Linked DNA regions of Homo sapiens: regions 1 and 2 are each linked to region 3. The links are contacts of gene promoters, found by promoter capture Hi-C in blood cells and fetal thymus (Javierre and others, 2016). All regions are on one chromosome and are shown on one strand. Each heading gives the region's core, a stretch centred on a gene start or on the middle of the fragment in contact. The rest is flanking DNA. Distances are from core to core; before and after follow the strand shown. Region 1 overlaps PHF20 (PHD finger protein 20). Region 2 overlaps PHF20 (PHD finger protein 20). Region 3 holds the start of C20orf173 (chromosome 20 open reading frame 173).

Evidence for each region. Contacts are between HindIII fragments. The CHiCAGO score rates a contact against its expected background, and 5 or more counts as called.
Region 1: a contact is called between a fragment that was not itself captured here and the fragment with the promoter of C20orf173 in region 3, in 1 of 17 cell types (erythroblasts). The highest score is 5.4, in erythroblasts.
Region 2: a contact is called between a fragment that was not itself captured here and the fragment with the promoter of C20orf173 in region 3, in 1 of 17 cell types (naive CD8 T cells). The highest score is 5.1, in naive CD8 T cells.

What each region holds. Positions count from the first base shown.
Region 1 is chr20:35,943,898-35,947,142 of GRCh38, reverse strand. The region is part of intron 17 of PHF20 (PHD finger protein 20); the gene reads right to left. Among named protein-coding and RNA genes, the nearest start is that of SCAND1, 9.0 kb to the left of the region's middle. The HindIII fragment of the contact is 1,620 bases long and covers 503-2,122 here.
Region 2 is chr20:35,866,084-35,869,614 of GRCh38, reverse strand. PHF20 (PHD finger protein 20) reads right to left here. Exons shown (of 18, transcript NM_016436.5): 7 at 64-177. Among named protein-coding and RNA genes, the nearest start is that of SCAND1, 87 kb to the left of the region's middle. The HindIII fragment of the contact is 965 bases long and covers 1,641-2,605 here.
Region 3 is chr20:35,528,376-35,531,625 of GRCh38, reverse strand. It overlaps C20orf173 (chromosome 20 open reading frame 173), which reads left to right and starts at 1,974. Exons shown (of 6, transcript NM_001145350.2): 1 at 1,974-2,067; 2 at 2,202-2,561; 3 at 2,747-2,925; 4 at 3,082-3,175. The coding sequence starts at 2,253. The HindIII fragment of the contact is 24,584 bases long and covers 1-3,250 here.

The sequences.
Region 1 (3,245 bases), core at 63-2,562, 420 kb before region 3:
GAACTGAATTTTAAATTTTATTCAGTTTTGGTTAAACAGCCACACATTGCCAGAGGCTACTGTTACCAGAGTCTAGAAGTCTTGGAAGGAAGCACCTTTCTGAGTGTTACCACTCACTCTTTAAAAAGCTTTCCCAGCCGGGCGCGGTGGCACATGCCTATAATCCCAGCACTTTGGGAGGTCGAGGCGGGCAGATCACAAGGTCAAGAGATCAAGACCATCCTGGCCAACATGGTGAAACCCCATCTCCACTAAAAATACAAAAATTAGCCAGGCATGGTGGTGCCCGTCTGTAGTCCCAGCTACTCAGGAAGCTGAGGCAGGAGAATTGCTTGAACCCGGGAGGCGGAGGTCGCAGTGAGCCGAGATCGTGCCACTGCACTCCAGCCTGGCGACAAAGCGAGACTCCATCTCAAAAAATAAAATAAATAAAATAATAAAATAAAATAAAATAAAATAAATAAAATAAAATAAAATAAAATAAAATAAAAAATAAAAAGCTTTCCCATGTTGAAAATCAGAGAGCCTGGTGTTTTAGCATCCTGTCAAGAAAAATGAAAATCTATAGGGTCTTGAAAAGGTCTATTTGTATATCATAAACTCTGATTTGCTTCATATTAATTCCTGATTGATACGCAATCATCAGTGGCACAGAATACTCTGTTATTATTTTCTCCCTTTATTTATTTACTTATTTATTTATTTTTTTGAGATGGAGTCTCACTGTGTCGCCCAGGCTGGAGTGCAGTGGCGCCATCTCAGCTCACTGTAATCTCTGCCTCCTAGGTTCAAGCGATTCTCCTGCCTCAGCCTCCAAAGTAGCTGGGATTACAGGCATGTGCCACCACGCCCGGCGAATTTTTGTATTTTGGTCTCAAACTCCTGACCTCAGGTGATCCACCCACCTCGGCCTCCCAAACTGCTAGGATTACAGGCATGAGCCACTGGGCCTGGCCTTTTTTTTTCTTTTGAGACAGAGTTTCGCTCTTGTTGCCTGGGCTGGAGTACAATGGCAATGATCTCGACTCACTGCAACCTCCGCCTCCCGGGTACAGGCGATTCTCCTGCCTCAGCCTCCTGAGGAGATGGTATTACAGGCACACACCACCACGCCTGGCTAATTTTTGTTATTTTTAGTAGAGATGGGGTTTCATCATGTTGGCCAGGCTGGCCTCGAACTCCTGACCTCAGGTGATCCACCTGCCTTGGCCACTTTGAAAGTGCTAGGATTACAGGCATGAACCACCATGCAGGACCCCTTTAAATATTTAATGTAAGATTTCAGGTATTAATTAACATTATCATCATTGGTTCAATATCTAGAAAGCTGTCTTGCTTGTGAGAACAAGTATTTCTCTACAGAAAGATGTTTGTTCTTCCCTAAGCTACCCCCTAAAGCTCTGGCATTTGGGGAGAGACCATCTGGGAACCCTGCACCTTTGACAAGAACCACCCCCTGCAGGTAGCCCCTGTGCTATCCCAGCCTGCCTGTAGCCTTTCTAGTCCATGCACCAACCTGTACTGAGCACCTTCTGGACCCTGGAGTGCAGCAAAAGAAAGGCCCACCCAGTACCTCTTCATCAAGCAGCCTGCAACCTACTGCGCAATCCTCTCCTGTCCTCAGATGCAGCCCTACCTTCCTCTCCACCTTTCTAAATCCTCTGTTTCTTGTGAGCTATTCTTTAGGGAAGCCTTCCCCAACCCTATACCCTGAATCTGGTCCTTGTGTTACAGGTGCTATGATATCACATGTTCTCCTTTGAGCATTTACTATGGTTTGTCATTACAGGTAATGGGATGATTTGTTTAATATATGTCTCTCCCACTAGATCAAGTTCCACGAGGGCAAAGGCTGAGTCTGCCTTGCTTGCCACTATATCCCTAACACTCACCTGTGTCTGAAATGTGGCAAGCCTGCAACAAACACAGCGAGAGAAGGAATGTGTGGTCCAGCAAAGCGCCCTACCCATTGCTCTGGGCCCTATGTAGTTTATCCTCCTCCATCATATTTCTTGTTGGTATTTGGGGGTTCCAAGAAGGAGGAACCCTCTCTCTTCCTAATTCCAGCAAGTACAAGGACTTGGAAATAAGAAAAATAAGACCACCTCCTCAGACTTAAGCTTGAAAACCATTAGTAAAAGATCAGTCATGTGAGAGGAACTAGTGGCCTGCTGAGCAAGAAAACTGGATAGTGACCAGTTTCAAAACACCAGTAAGTCTTTAAAAAAAACTAGAAGGAGACAGGGGACTGTTCAGCAAACAGGCAGAAGAATAAATGGAGAGGCCGGACGTGCACGCCTGTAATCCCAACACCTTGGGAGGTCAAGGGAGGTGGATCACCTGAGGTCAGAAATTCAAGACAAGCCTGGCCAACATGGTGAAACCCCATCTCTATTAAAAATACAAAATCAGCCAGGTGTGGTGGCAGGCATCTGCCTGCTACTTGGGAGGCTGAGGAAGGAAGAGTCGCTTAAACCTGGGAGGCAGAGGCTTCAGTAAGCCGAGATCATGCCACTGTACTCCAGCCTGGGCGAGAAAGAGCAAGACTCCGTCTTAAAAAAATAAAATAAAATAAAAATAAATAAATGGACAAAAGGCAGTCAGGACTGGATGGGTCACTCCAACAGCAAAGAGAGTCAGTCAATCTTTTGCAAGATGATCCTACAGTTGCTGAGAGGCCCCTCTTAAGGTCACCCTAACTACCTTGGATCTAGTTCCAGGCTCACCAAAGACATCCCGATACTACGGTGGCCCAGGAGGCATGCACAGTGTGAAAGCGCACCAACGCTCAGACTGGAAGAGTCTAAGCCACTCAGTAGTGCCTGAGCTTGGTTAACAGGAGTGTGTGGAGTTCCTGAGATGGAAGCTGTCTGTCTAGGTCTGTTAGGCTGAAGAACAAAGCCAGGACTGTGGGAAGTCAACAGCATCTCCTCTGGACCCCAGCATCCAGCAGGCCACCCTCTCCATACCATGTGCTGCACCATCCCAAGTGTCTCTTTTAAAGATGCAGAACAGCTTCCAACTAGCATAGTGGTTGCTAGCAAGACAGAAGGTTACAGAGGAAAAAATTCTGTTCAAATACACTAAGATCATGTGTATAGAGACCACTGCTCACCAAGGCAACATTTTTTATTTAAGAAAATAATCTCTCTAATGCCAAAAGACTTTTTTACTTTTCATGGTCATTAAATATCCTTTGTCTTTTAGTTTTAAAGTACTGTTCAGGCTGGGTGCAGTGGCTCACA
Region 2 (3,531 bases), core at 874-3,373, 340 kb before region 3:
ATAGAGGAAGTTGACCCAAACAACGTCAAATTCTAGCCACACATAAACAAACTGTAGACTCACATGAATTTTTGTCAAGCCGAGGACGTTTTAATGGGACTTCACATCCTTTTGATATTTTCCTTCTTCTCAGTTCCAATGTTATTGGTTGCAAAGTTTGAGAGTTTGAATCCACAGCTACCATGTTTATAAAACCACACAAAAAAAGATACATAATTTCTTAGTGTCTGTCATTTTTATATATAAATAAAACATATATACATATATATATGCAGAAATCACTGCATTATAAATGGGCCATCAAAAGGGCATTCTTACTTAAGATAAAAGAAAAAAAGTAAAATGAGTGAGAAATTACTTCCTTACAGGAGATGGTGATACCTTGCCAATTGACCTCCTGAATCTTTTCTATGATCCAGCTCCAGTTTTCAACCTCTACTTGCTACATTAATTATCTTAGCACTGGGCCTAGTTTTGAGGGTACAAGAAAAATGTCCAAGAGAATTTGTGGATTTTTTTTTTTTGAGATGGAGTCTCGCTCTGTCACCCAAGCTGGAGTGCAGTGCCGCGATCTCTGCTCACTGCAACCTCCGCCTCCCAGGTGCAAACGATTCTCCTGCCTCAGCCTCCGGAGTAGGTGGGATTACAGGCACCCGACACCACACCCGGCTAATTTTTGTAATTTTAGTAGAGTCACGGTTTCCCCATGTTGGTCAGGCTGGTCTCAAATTCCTGACCTCAAGTGATCCAGCTGCCTCGTCCTCCCAAAGTTCTGGGATTACAAGCATGAGCCATGAGACCCAGCCGAGAATTTGTATTTTCTTAAACAAAATCCTAAAAAAATTCTTGGGAGACTATGCTAGTTAACAGTCAATGTTTCAGGCAAGGCTGCTGGTCCCCAGCAAACCCAGCTCTGACATAATTTAGCAGTACAGACGCTAAGCCTTTGAAGAGTACTTACTATTTAGATTTTGTTTGCTTGCTTGCTTGCTTGCTTGCTTGTTTTTTTGAGATGAAGTCTGGGTCTGTTGCCCAGGCTAGAGTGCAGTGGCACGATCTCGGCTCACTGCTACCTCTGCCTCCTGGGTTCAAGTGATTGTCCTGCCTCAGCCTTCCCTGTAGCTGGGATTACAGGCACCTGCCATACCTAGCAAAATTTTTTTTTTTTTGTATTTTTAATAGAGATGGGGTTTCACCATGTTGGCCAGGCTGGTCTTGAACTCCTGACATCAAGTGATCTGCCCGCCTCAGCCTCCCAAAGTGCTGAGATTACAGGTGTGAGCCACCTGCCCAGCATAGTATTTACTATTAACTTTTTTTTGAGATAGAGTTTTGCTCTCGTTGCCCAGGCTGGACTGCAATGGTGCGATCTCAGCTCACCGCAAGCTCTGCCTCCCGGGTTCAAGTGATTCTCCTGCCTCAGCCTCCCAAGTAGCTGGGATTACAGGCATGCGCCACCACACCTGGCTAATTTTGTATCTTTAGTAGAGACAGGGTTTCTCCATGTTGGTCAGGCTGTTCTCGAACTCCTGACCTCAGGTGATCTGCCTGCCTTGACCTCCCAAAGTGCTGAGATTACAGGCGTGAGCCACCATGCCCAGCCCTTACTATTTTGTTTTAAACCTACCACCTAAGAAGCTTACCCCAAATCAGAAAAGATGAGAATTGAAAAGGCAGGCAGAAGAAAGAAACTGGGAAGTTGGGCAGGAAGGCAGAGCTAAGGGGTCTCAGGAAGGGTGAAAGGAGGAGAGAGAAGAGGAAGGAGGAAAGGAAGAGGGAAGAAGAGAAGTAAATGGGAGGAAAAGAGGAAGGGAAGGGAGAAAGATGAGAAGAGGGGAAGAGGGACAGAAAAGACTCATCTAAGACCTGTAGCTTCAGGTCGGTCAAATGGCTCAACAAGACACGGCCTGAAGTGTGAGGAAGCAAACCAGAGAAGACTGTTGAACTCTGAGGCTCTTCCTGTGTTCCAACTTCCCAATGGGCCAATATTATTTTGTTCCAACTGGCAGAACTTGGAAATCCCACACATTCCAAGTTAAACATAAATACAAACAGGCTGGGTGTGGTGGCTCACGCCTGTAATCCCAGCACTTTGGGAGGCAGAGACAGGCAGATCACTTGAGCTCAGGAGTTCAAGACTAGCATAGCCAACATGGTGAAACCCTGTCTCTACTAAACATACAAAAAATTAGCCAGGCATGGTGGCACATGCCTGTAGTCCCAGCTACTTGGGAGGCTGAGGCACAAGAATCACTTGAACCCAGGAGGCGGTGGTTACAATGAGCCGAGATCATGCCACTGCACTCCAGCCTGGGAGACAGAGTAAGACTCCATCTCAAAAAAATAAAAATTAAAATATATATAAACAACCCTCTCTAAATAGCTCAGATCCTGTTCCCAATCAAGTCTATACAATCTAGGGTGCTCAAGGAAGGCTCTACAAATCAATGAACTTATTCCAAGTAATGTTTTAAGGGGATGTGAACAATATATGGGATACTTGGCAAGTCTTCTTCCCTTTGATACCGTATATAAATAGGAGCTGACTGTACAGAACTTGAGTGTTTCCCAAACTCTTCTTACAGTATAAGTCATCTGGGAAGCTTGTTAACAATTCATATTCCCAGATTCCCATCCAGACAGTCTGACTGGAAAAGAACTGAGGCATGGCTGGAATCTGTTTTCACAAATGCCTTGGGCAAGGATTAACCATAAACTTAGAAAACATCCCTTCTATATTAAATTTATCCTACTCATTATGAAATCCTACACTTATAAAAATATAAAAACTGAATGTCCTTGTTCTTATCTCAATGGAGTCATGTGGCTTCAAAGGAGCAGTCTGCTTGTTGGGGTACAACTACTTCTGTACATACCTTCTGGAGGGTATAAGCCAGGGCATGAATACCTAAAGGAGAATTAGTTTCAAAACACTCAATTCTCATACATACTCTTTCCTAAACTGAGCTAAGGACATGTCAGATTTCTGCCTAAGGACATGTCAGATTTCTGCCAGTTTACATTTTCCACCTCTCCTTGTATAATAACTGCCTTTAACTGCCCTTCTCCCACTTTACATAAAAGGGCCTGCCTCTCACTCATCCCACATCTTAACATGGTGCTCAGCCTGGAGGTTTAAAACTTCCAGATTTTCTCAACTGGGGTTCCCCATCTGAACAGAGATATATTTTCTCTGTTTTCCTAAGGGTGGTATACAGCTAGTACCATTCTCAATGCACTAAGGTCAATCCATCACAGATCAAGGATGCCTTGGGTATTGTGGCTTCTCTCCCAAAACTCAGTTGAGAAAGCCAGTGAACATAAAGTCAGTGCTGTCCAACAGAAATATACTAAGAGTGCAAGCCACATGTAATTTTATTTTATTTTATTATTTTTTGTTTTTTTGAGATGGAGTCTCGCTCTGTCACCCAAGCTGGAGAGCAGTGGTGCGATATCGGCTCACTGTAACCTCTGCCTCCTGGGTTCAAGAGATTCTCCTGCCTCAGCCTCCCAAGTAGGTGGGATTACAGG
Region 3 (3,250 bases), core at 725-3,224:
GGCTCACGCCTGTAATTCCAGCACTTTGGGAGGCCGAGGTGGGCGGATTGCTTGAGACCAGGAGATGGAGACCAGCCTAGCCAACACAGTGAAACCCCGTTTCTACCAAAAAAATACAAAAATGAGCCAGGTGTGGTGTTGTGCGCCTGTAGTCCCAGCTACCTGGGAGGCTAAGGCATGAGAATCACTTGAACCTGGGAGGTAGAGGTTGCAGTGAGCCAAGATTGTGCCACTGCACTCCAGCCTGGGCGACAGAGTGAGACTCTGTTTCAAAAATAAATTAAATAAATAAATAAGCCTAGCGTGGTGGCACACTTCTGTAGTCCCAGCATCTTGGCAAGCTGAGGTGAAAGGATTGCTTGAACCTTGGAGGCAGAGGCTACAGTGGGCTAAGATTGTGCCACTGCACTCCTGCCTGGGTGACAGAGTGAGACTTTGTCCTAAAAAAAAAAAAAAAAAAAGAATTTGGGTATCATAGGAGTAGGAGGAATTAATAACACATGAGTTCTGGTTTCAATAACTGGGTACGTGGTGGAACCATTTGTTGAGATAGAGAAGTTTTGAAGCTGGGTGCAGTGGCTCACGCCTGTAATCCCAGTACTTTGGGAGGCCGAGGTGGGCAGATTACCTGAGGTCAGGAGTTTGAGATCAGCCTGGCCAACATGGTGGAATCCCGTTTGTACCAAAAATACAAAAAATTAGCCGGGCTTGGTGGCACGCACCTGTAATCCCAGCTATTCGGGAGGCAGAGGCAGGAGAATTGCTTGAACCCCGGAGGAGGCAGAAGTTGCAGTGAGCTGAGATTGCGCCACTGCACTCCAGCCTGGGTGACAGAGCAAGACTCTGTCTCAAACAAAACAAAAGAGACAGAGAAGTTTTGGGAAGGGTTGGTTTACAGGGAAAATCCTGGGTTCAGTCTCAGGCTTATTCAGGTGAGATGTCTCTGAGCCATCTAAGTGGCAATTCAGTAGGCTGTTGGATATGGGGTCTAGAGACTACAAGAGAGGATTGAGTTGATGTCACACAACTCCAGAGAGGGCATCACACACAAGTATATTTAAAGTTCCAGGCTGGGGCGGGGTGCAGTGGCTCATGCCTGTAATCCCAACACTTTGGGAGGCCAAGGCGGGCGGATCACCTGAGGTCAGAAGTTCGAGATCAGTCTGACCAACATGGGGAAACCCCGTCTCTACTAAAAATACAAAAAAATTAGCCAGGCGTGGTGGCGGGCACCTGTAATCCCAGCTACTTGGGAAACCGAGGCAAGAGAATCACTTAAACCCGGGAGGTAGAGGGTGCAGTGAGCCGAGATCGTGCCTCTGCACTCCAGCTGGGGCGACAAGAGTGAAACTCCGTCTCAAAATAATAATAATAATAATAATAATAATAATAATAATAATAATAATTTAAAAATAAAGTTCCCGGCTGGGCATGGTGGTTCACGCCTGTAATTCCAGCACTTTGGGAGGCTGAGGTGGGCGGATCACTTGAGGTCAGGAGTTTGAGACCAGCCTGGCCAATATGGCGAAACCCTGTCTCCACTAAAAATATAAAAATTAGCCAGGCGTGGTGGCGCATGCCTGTAGTCCCAGCTACTTGGGAGGCTGAGGCATGAGAATCGCTTGAACCAGGCAGGCGGAAGTTGCAGTGAGCCAAGATCATGCCACTGCACTCCAGCCTGGACAACAGAGCAAAAACTCCATCTCAAAAAAAAAAAAAAAAGTTCCCTCTCAACCCCTGTTTATTTATCCCATAAATATTTATTAAATGATTCTAAGTCTTAGAGCTGCAGAGGTGAAGAAGAGAGACTAGGTCAGCCCCTGTCCTCATGAATCTTACATCCAGTGGAGGTCATTTCGGTGTCAGAGAAAGGGTAGGGTGGTGGCTTTTTTCAGGCAGGCTAAAGGAGGGAGGTCACAATGTGTACTTTGTGATGAGATCTATGATATAACTGGGATGACAGCAAGGCCCCCACTGAGGTATTCCTTCCCCTCTCAGGACTAGCCACATGCTGTCTCTCTGCCCTGGCCTCTTCCACCCCATGCCCAGTCAGAGACCGTTTTGAGGGTGAGCAAATGGATAGTGAGGCAGGAGAGGAGGGGTTGGAAGGAGGTGGAAGGTGGTGGGATGGGGAGTTGTGGAGGCCGACAGGACAGAGGGAAGCTGGTGCTGTCTGTGGCCTCAGCCCCTCATCCTTACAGGTAGAGAAGCCAGTCTACGGCCCACCACGGGAGCCACCGCCTGGGCCAGACATGAAGCGCTGGCAGATTTTTGTCCTGTGGGTCTTTTGGGTGCTCATCCTCTGGCTGATGACCCCCTATCTGGATCTGACACCTGAATCAGCACCCCAGGAAAAACGAATGTACTTGGTACCACAGCATTGCGACTGCCCTTGGTTCAGTTCCGGGAAGTGTGGCTGCCCTTCTGAGACCCTCAACTGCTCCTCCTGCCACCACACAGCCGACGAATGGAACTGGCTTGATGCGTGCTCCAGGAAGACTATGGGGTACCTGATGAGGACAAGAGAGTCTATGACCTCTGACACTGTGCTCTGGTGGTTGGTCAGTGGTCAACACTGGGCCCGGCCATATCCCCCATGCTTTCCGGGCCTCACCCATCTCCCACTTTCCGCCCAAATCCCTGCCCTTGGCCCTGTCTTCACAGCCTCTGGATGGAGATCTCACCCACCCAGCTCTGTTTTCTCTCCCCTGGGCCCAGCCCCCAATCTCCCTCTTGCTGTTTCCAGGGCATGAACTCAGGGAGCGAGCTTGGGAAATTGTGGAGGAAGCTGTTTAAAGGGATTCCCAGGCTCTCGGTGAGCCATTTTGATTTCTATTGTGGGACTTGTGTGCTGTTGGGGCGCCCACAGATCCCGCAGGGCTCCAGCCTTGGCAACGACATCGACCAATACCCCGTGGTTTTCAGGTGGGTGCTGGGGAGAGGGCGGGAGCAGGAAGGCCAGGCCTGCCCCACAGTTCCATCAGTTTCTGCTCCCCTTCCCAAGATGAAGCAGGCCCCAAGTCCAGGGCTTTGAGATGGACGTGGGGAACCAAACCACACACAATGCTTCATCTATCCCAGGAATGCCAGCGACCAGGGCTCCTGGATGCAGCTGGAGATGCTACTGCGGAAGCTCTCTGACCTGGTGTGGACTTCAGATGCTCTAAGTGATAAGGTGATGGAGGTGTCCCCAGACATTCTCTGTGTGGGGGTGAGGGGAGGTCACTGCAGGGAGTAACAGCAGGGGCTC